Regions from separate parts of the Homo sapiens genome. Here region 1 is linked to region 2. Evidence: promoter capture Hi-C in 16 types of primary human blood cells and fetal thymus (Javierre and others, 2016). All regions are on one chromosome and are shown on one strand. The core of a region is centred on a gene start or on the middle of the fragment in contact, and the rest is flanking DNA. Distances in the headings are between cores, read along the strand shown. Region 1 overlaps MRPL1 (mitochondrial ribosomal protein L1). Region 2 holds the start of CDKL2 (cyclin dependent kinase like 2).

What was found. Contacts are between HindIII fragments. The CHiCAGO score rates a contact against its expected background, and 5 or more counts as called.
Region 1: a contact is called between a fragment that was not itself captured here and the fragment with the promoter of CDKL2 in region 2, in 1 of 17 cell types (activated CD4 T cells). The highest score is 5.1, in activated CD4 T cells.

Annotation. Positions count from the first base shown.
Region 1 is chr4:77,865,457-77,869,870 of GRCh38, forward strand. All of the region lies in intron 1 of MRPL1 (mitochondrial ribosomal protein L1), which reads left to right. Among named protein-coding and RNA genes, the nearest start is that of MRPL1, 4.8 kb to the left of the region's middle. The HindIII fragment of the contact is 6,388 bases long and covers 1-4,414 here.
Region 2 is chr4:75,627,434-75,631,847 of GRCh38, forward strand. It overlaps CDKL2 (cyclin dependent kinase like 2), which reads right to left and starts at 3,095. Exons shown (of 14, transcript NM_001330724.2): 1 at 2,609-3,095. The HindIII fragment of the contact is 1,829 bases long and covers 2,585-4,413 here.

The DNA.
Region 1 (4,414 bases), core at 438-2,937, 2.2 Mb after region 2:
TGTTGGCCAGGCTAGAGTGCAGTGGCCCGGTCACGGCTCACTGCAGCCTTGACCTCTGGGGCCCACTATGACCAGCTAATTTTTTTTTTGGTAGAGATGAGATCTCACTGTGTTGCCCAGGCTGCTCTCGAGCTCCTGGGCTCAAGTGATCCTTCCACTTCAGTCTCCTGAAGTGCTGGCAGTACAGGCTCTGAGCCACTGCACCTGGCTGACTCCTCTCTGTATCTCACACTTTACATTAAATAGTTTGCAAATCCTGTTGGCTTTACGCTTAAAATAAATCCAGACTCTGACTTCTCACTGCCCCACTGCAGCTACCTTGTTCCCACCTGCTACCATCTCTCACTTGGATTTCTCTACAGTCTACTGTCAATGAGTAGTGAAATTCATCCTTTAAGGACCTCAGTCATGTTACTCCTGTGCTCAGAACTCTGCAAAGCCTTTCCATTTTTCTAAATCCAAAGCCCTTAGAATGGCCTACAGTTGTGCTATTCATTTTGTTAGCCACTATTTATTGAGCACTTCAAATTGGTTAATCTGAATTGAATTTGTCAAATATACATTAGATTTTGAGGGCTTAGCATAAAAAAAAACATGTAAAATACTTTTTTCTGAGATGGAGTCTTGCTCTGTTGTCCAGGCTAGAGTGCAGTGGCATGATCTCGGCTCACTGTAACCTGTGCCTCCCAGGTTCAAGTGATTCTGTAGTCTCAGCCTCCCGAGGAGCTGGGATTACAGGCACATGCCACTGGGTCCGGGTAATGTTTGTATTTTCAGTAGAGACGAGGTTTTGCCCTGTTGACCAGGTTGGTCTTGAACTCCTGACCTCAGGTGATCCACCCGCCTCAGCATCCCATACTGCTGGGATTACAGGCGTGAGCCACCACACCCAGCCCAATTTTTTTACATTGATAATTTAATAATACTTTGGGGTATTAGTGATAAAATATTAACTTACTGTTTCTTTTTACCTTATATATTGTAGTTATTAGAAAATTTTAAATTGTACATGTGGCTTACATTATTCTTCTGTTGAGTAGCACTGGTGTACAAGTCTTCGATATCACCTTGTGCCTACCTTCTCCTACCCCCGCCTCACCCAGCTGACCTCTCTGACCTCTTCTCCATCTATCCTCCCTCACACTCACTCTGCTGTAACCAGCTGGCCTTCTAGTTTCTTAAACACATTAAGAACACTCTTGCCTTAGAATCTTTGCCCTAGAACAGTTTCTTGGTGTTTGCGTGGCTAACTTTCCCATATCTTTTCAACTCTTTGCTGAAATATCACCCCCCTTTTTTTTTTTTTTTGAGACAGAGTTTCGCTCTTGTTGCCCAGGCTGGAGTGCAATGGCGCGATCTCGGCTCACTGCAACCTCCGCCTCCTGGGTTCAGACGATTCTCCTGCCTCAGCCTCCTGAATAGCTGGGATTACAGGCGCCTGTCACAACGGCCAGCTAATTTTTGTATTTTTAGTAGAGATGGGGTTTCAACATGTTGGCCAGGCTGGTCTCGACCTCCTGACCTCGTGATCCTCCCACCTCGGCCTCCCAAAGTGCTGGGATTACAGGCATGAGCCACCATGCCTGGCCTCAAATGTCACCCTTTTAATGAGGCTTGTCTTAACCACTATACTTAAAATTGCAAACCACTTTCCACTGATACAATCCCTTTTATCCTGCAGTGCCTCCATCCCCCAATTATTTTTATTGGTATTGTCTTCCCCCTCTAGACATAAGCCCTATGAGGATAGGGATTTTTATGTTTTATTCACTGATGTACCTAAATGCTTCCAGCAGTGCTAGCACATGTTTCATTGGCGTATTTGTTGAATGAATGAATGAATAAATGGATCATCAGAAAAATGGCCCCTTTCATGTGCTGTAATGCATAATATTTGAGTCCAATTTTTGCTCTCATTTGTTCAAATTTTCTTCATTCAACAAATGTTTATTTAGAGTCTTCACTTGACAAACACTGTGCTAGGTGCTAGGTATACAATGCTGAACAAGCTATATACATTTCCTGCCCATGATGCTTACCATCTATTGAGGAGCAGGAATTAATTGGATAATTCTTTTCTTTTTCTTTTTCTTTTTCTTTTCTTTTCTTTCAAGAGACGGGGTCTCACTATGTTGCCCAAGCTGGTCTTGAACTCCTGGGCTCAAATTATCCTCCCACCTCAGTCTTCTGAAGTGCTGGCATTATAGGCATGAGCGATCAACCCGCCTTGGCTTCCCAGTGTTGGGATTACATGCGTGAACCACTACACCCAGCCTTGGATAGTTATTTCTTTTTTTTTTTTTTTTTTTTTTTTTTTTTAGACGGAGTCTTGCTCTGTCGACCAGGCTAGAGGGCAGTGGCACGATCTCGGCTCACTGCCAGCTCTGCCTTCCGGGTTCACGCCGTTCTCCTGCTTCAGCCTCCCGAGTAGCTGAGACTATAGGCGCCCGCCACCATGCCTGGCTAATTTTTTGTATTTTTAGTAGAGACGGGGTTTCACCGTGTTAGCCAGGATGGTCTTGATCTCCTGACCTCGTGATCCGCCCACCTCAGCCCCCCAAAGTGCTGGGATTACAGACATGAGCCACCGCGCCTGGCCAGTTATTTCTTTTTTTTTTCCTTTTGAGATGGAGTCTCACTCTGTTGCCTAGGCTGGAGTGCAGTGGCACGATCTTGGCCCACTGCAACCTCTGCTTCCCAGCTTCAAGTGATTTTCCTGCTTCAGCCTCCTGAGTAGCTGGGACTACAGGCACGTGTCACCATGCCCAGCTAACTTTTGTGTGTATATTTTGTTTTTTTTTCTGTGATGGACTCTTCCTCTGTTGCCTAGGCTGGAGTGCAGTGGCTCAATCTTGGCTCACTGCAACCTCTGACTCTGGGGTTCAAGCAGTTCCTGCCTCAGCCTCCCGAGTAGCTGGGATTACAGGAGCATGCCACCACACCCGGCTAATTTTTTTTGTATTTTTAGTAGAGACGGGGTTTTACCATGTTGGCCAGGCTGGTCTTGAACTCCTTATCTTGTGATCCACCCTCCTCAACCTCCCAAAGTGCTGGGATTACCGGCATGAGCCACCACGCCCGACCTGGATAATTATTTCTTTAGTTAAAATTGTCCTAAGTGCTGTGAAGGAAAAGTGTAAGATGTTATACAAATGTATATGAGAGACCTAATCTATTCAGGGGAGACTCTTCTGAAGAAATAATGTTAAGTAGAGTCCTTGAAAGATAACTGTATTACTATGAACTAGTGGAGTGGAAAGCAATAGGGGAAAATGTCATAGATGGAAGATTATGAAAATTCTTAGGTGGTAAAGAACAGAGTCAAGTAACTGAAAGAAGATGAGTGTATTTGTAGCATGGTGAACATGAGGGAGAGTGGGGCTAGAGGATGCTCACTGGATAGTTTAGTAGTAGCTCGTGGAGTACCTTGGTAAAAATTTCCTTTGTTCAAAGAGCCAAGTTTAGCCATCCAAGTATTTTAAGGACATGGTGAAATTTTCATTTTAAAATGATCCCTCTTACTAATATAGGTGGAAAAGAAATGGAGAGGGCCAAGTGTAGAAGACAGAACAGTTTAGAGGCTGTGGCAGTAATCCAGGTGGTAGGTGATGGTAGCCTGGACTGTGATGGTTGTAGCAGAAAGGCAAGAATAGATGGATACGATTCCCTAGGGAGAGTGAGGATTATAGAGTCAGGTGAGAAGGCAGTATAGGACTGACCTCAAGGGAACTCTAACCTTTCACTATCAATTAAAAGAGATAAGAAAGGAGAGGGAGTTGTTTCTATCTCATTGCCACGGGGTGGGAGAGATTTTGAGAATGAGTGCTGGATCAGGGAGACTCAGTAGTTCAGGAAGTTCTGAGGGCTATTTTCTCTGAAGTAGCAAGTGAGGTTATATGCTAAGAATAAGGGGAAGAGAAATGTATTAATAAAGGAGATAAAATAATACAGCTAGACAAATTGACTACAAAAGGATTGAAAACATAGATATCATGATCTAACAGTGCTACTTAAATAGTGGTATTTGGTTTCTTTTGGTCTGTAGTGTTTGATTTCTGTTGAAAATTGTAGTTTCTGGTTGTCATGACTGATAGTAGTGGTTTTGCTTGCTTGCTTGCTTTTTGTTGTTTGTTTGTTTGTTTGTTTGTTTGTTTTTGAGACAGAGTTTCGCTCTTGTTGCCCAGGCTGGAGTGCAGTGGCGCGGCTCACTGCAACCTCTGCCATCCAGGTTCAAGCGATTCTTGTGCCTCAGCCTCTCAGGTAGCTGGGATTACAGGCATGCACCAACACACTCAGCTAATTTTTTTTGCGTTTTTAGTAGAGACAGTTTCATCATCTTGGTCAGGCTGGTCTCAAACTCCTGACCTCAGGTGATCCACCCACCTCAGCTTCCCAAAGTGCTGGGATTACAGGT
Region 2 (4,414 bases), core at 1,845-4,344:
GGTAAGTTTTGTATTTTCATAGAGATGGGGTTTTGCCATGTTGCCCAGGCTGATCTCAAACTCCTGACCTCAAGTGATCCACCCACCTTGGCCTCCCAAAGTGCTGGGATTGCAGGCGTGAGCCAGAGCGCCCGGCCTGAATTTAGTTTTAATAAAGATCAACTTTTTTGTTACACTGGATTTAGATCAATGTTGGAAATACTTATGCACCTTCCACTTAATTGGAAAAAATATTTGATCACATAACAAATTAACACAGAGCATCTTTCATAAAATATTTTTCTTTACTTTTTTTTTCTTTTTTTTTTTTTTTTTTTTGAAACGGAGTCTCGTGCACTGGCGCGATCTCGGCTCACTGCAACCTCTGCCTCCCAGGTTCAAGCGATTCCCTGTTTCTGCCTCCCCAGTAGCTAGGGTTACAGGCACCGCTACCACGCCCAGCTAATTTTTGTACTTTTAGTAGAGACGGGGTTTCGCCATGTTACTGTTACTATATTGAACTTAGAAAATAAGAGTAATGACATCGGTATATAAGCAGATTTTTAAAATTAAATTAAATTTTATTAAATTTAATGTAATTATTAAATTAAATTAAATATTAGTAGTACCAAGTACAGTAAAAGTATTTCAAAAACCCTGTTAATGATTACTCACTATAAGTATAATTTGAATTTGTGTTTGAAATTTTTTTTTTTTTTTTGAGACGGAGTCTTGCTCTGTCGCCCAGGCTGGAGTGCAGTGGCGCGATCTTGGCTCACTGCAAACTCCGCCTCCCGGGTCCACGCCATTCTCCTGCCTCAACCTCTCGAGTAGCTGGGACTACAGGCGCCTGCCACCACGCCCAGCTAACTTTTTGTATTTTTAGTAGAGACGGGGTTTCACCGTGTTAGCCAGGATTGTATCGATCTCCTGACCTCGTGATCTGCCCGCCTCGGCCTCCGAAAGTTCTGGGATTACAGGCGTGAGCCACCGCGCCCGGCCTTGAAATTTTTTACTCATATTATATGACATTTTCTGAATAAAGGCAATCCTAAGAGAATCTTTCTTGTTTTACCAATGATTGACGAAGGTCCAGCAATCATTGGACAAAATGCTTTCGTACAGAAAAAAATTATTTCAGTCCAAATACAGATAGATTTTAACTATCTATTATTTCAGTAATAATAGATAAAAAATTATTTCAGTCCAAATACAGATAGATTTTAACAAGAAATAATTCTTGCCTGTTGTATTAATTGTATACTTACGGCAATCTAAAATTTACTCAGATCGTGAACTGTTTTTCCTATTTCTCTATTGGAACAGTGATGCAAAGACAAAACAAATATTCTCTTTGTTCTAGCAAACTATGCTAATCCAATGTATACAATACGTTTTCCACACTTGACATATAATAGTTTGAGATTTTATAATATATATATTTTTAATGTAGCTATATGTGGAGAACCAGAAGATTGATCTTGAGGGGTGGGAAATGAAAACAATACCAATGAACATCGACTTAAATTATTATTTTACTACCAGTTTTCATAGTAGATTCTACTACAAACTTTTTACAGAGCAGTGTCCCAGACACTAACTTTCCATGCATTTGACATTTTACCTTCTATTCCACTTCCATTAACTATTTTTTAATAAACTGTTTGTATTTGAAAAAAAAAATCTCCATATAATTCTATCCCTTCTTAATTTTTTTCTCTTCCATTAAGAGAGTATGTTTTATTAAGCACTAGGCTTTAGGTTTATCATACCAATGACAAAAATAGCTTGAATCTATAACCTGGATTATTTTAAAACATTTTGTAATTGATGTCCTCAATATTTGAAAGCACAAAGTGAACCAAAAAAAATGACTTTAAGCATGTCTGAGGTGTTCTGAAGCATATCCCAAGCTAACATTAATGCAAGTTGACTGCTTCAAGTTTATTCTCCCAACCAATTGCATATCTGGACACACCACATTGAACACACCTGCTTTTTCAAGTGACACTGTCCACAAATACTTTAAAAGTATCACAGCCTACAAAGCCTCCTGTTTCCTGAAACAGTTACTCATAAACTATAACTTCTCATGCCTTCTACTCTTGAACGGAAAGGTAATACAAACGAAAAAGAAACCTGGCCAATGGGCAAGGTGTTATTTCTGGATGGTTCTAAAAGCAACAATTTTGATAAAAATATTTGGAGAATGCTAATTTTTTATTTTGTTTAAGACAGATTAAAGGGCCGGGAGCGGTGGCTCACGCCTGTAATCCCAACACTTTGGGAGGCCGAGGCGGGCGGATCACCTGAGGTTGCGAGTTCGAGACCAGCCTAACCAACATGGAGAAACCCTGTCTCTACTAAAAATACAAACTTAGCCGGGCGTGGTGGTGATGCCTGTAATCCCAGCTACTTGGGAGGCTGAGGCAGGATAATCGCTTGAACCCAGGAGGCAGAGGTTGCGGTGAGCCGAGACCATGCCATTGCACTCCAGCCTGGGCAACAAGAGTGAAACTCCGTCTCAAAAAAAAAAAAAAAAAAAAAAAAAAAAAAAAAAAAAAAAGATTGAAATCTTTTATAGATCAAAGAACGAGATAATAGAAGCTTTAAAACGTACTATACTTACCGTTTCTTCAATCCGTTCGCATAGAAAGACCCAAAGGTTTTCAACTTGGAAACAAATTTGAGGTGAAATGCATATGGTTCGCAGGTCCAAAAGATGCTGCCTAGCAAACTAGCAATTCCAGCGCTGTTGTGATTTCTTCTGCGGACGCAGTCACGAGTCCAGGGCGAAGCAGGCAGGGAGGCAGGTGGGCCTCGGTCCGCCGCAAGCTCACACTTAGGAGGACCACGGGCCGCATGCTGTCGTCGTCAAGGCAACGACCTCACTCTGTCCCCAACCATAGGCACAAAGTCTTGGGAGACAGATACGGCCCAGGTCAGAATGCGTTCACGGCAGGCACCAACACCTGTGAAGGCCAAGGGCTAGAGAGCAATTAGCTGGGTGAGAGGCACCACCTCCCAGCTCGTAAGGCGCCCAGTACCTGGAGCCTGGGAACCTGCACCGCTCCAACTACCCCTGGGCGAAGGCGTTGGCCGCGGAGCTGCAAGGGGGGGCGGTTTCTCACCCGCCCCGAGAGCGCCAGGCCTCCCTTCTTCTGATTGGCCGAGCCGAGTCGTCACGAGCCATGATTGGCTCAGGGCCAACCACCCCGCCCCTTCACCTAGGGCTCGGCCCAGGTTCTGCTCCCTGACACGCAGAGGCCCTGCGTCCCCACACGCCTTGGTTCTCGTCAGGAGGCGCCTTTCTGCCTTCCCCAGCGGGAGGAGGCGATTGTGATGCCCACGCGAAGGGTAAAGGTGGCGGTTATGTAGGACTGCGAAGACTATGCAAAATGCGATACGGTTTCCCTCATAGCATCGCCGCTGGGGCAGGGGCGGGCGCCGGGCGCCCTGAGTCGCGTAGGCGCGGCCTGACCGGGATTCCATGCTTCCTTTCTGTTCTGGGCGGTGGGGCCAGTGTGAGCCAGGTAGGAGATAACGGTGACAGTTTAGGAGGTGATGATTAGTAGGCGAGGCAAGGTGGAAGAAGGTAGGTGATGACAGACCTGACGTTAGGAGGGACCTTGGGAAGGCCAGTCTGGCCATTGAAAGTGAGGGAAAACACTGAGATGGAGGAAGGGGAAGAGAGGGCATGAGTGGAATGGGAAAGCGCTGGGATGGCTGGGGATCTGGAGGACACGCACAACACCCGCGTATGGCAGCCAAATGGGGTGGAGTTAGGGCTTGCGATAAAACTTGCCTTAAATGCAAAAATGCAGCTCAATCCACGACTGAGCAAGACTGGTAGGTCAGAATCATGCACAGGCTTAAATCACACAGGAACAGAGCTTACCCCATTTTCAAAGAATCTGAGGCAGCGAGGAGGCCATAAGGCCAGTAAAATAACACTTTCAATCATGATAACTAAATGTTCATGATCATTTTGGTCTCGAAACTACTTTGATTTAGGGAATAGAGTGTCCTGGATAGACAAATGTCTACCATATACCCTAGTCAATATTAAGGTATTAATCATTAATGTTAAGGTATTGATTCCTTCTTGTACATTAAGAAATAGACATTCTTTTTATAGTCTTTTGTGAGTTTGGTTAGTTTGCATTAATCTCCCAGTGGTTAATTACCTTGGTCAGACTGCTTAAAATCTAGTTCCTGAACCTGTAATATTGAGAACCAGACCTGAGGCCTAGTTATGGAAAGAATAGAATTATTTGGTCAATTCAAGATGTGACTCTTAGTGTAGCAATTAGCTCTGTCCTTAGCTGTGTCCAAGTTGCGAGAAGCCCTGTCCCATTTGGTACCTCTATAGGCTATAAGAGAATCTGATGAACTTCTTTTATATGGGGGTAGATTCAGTTTTGTTGGGCCTGAA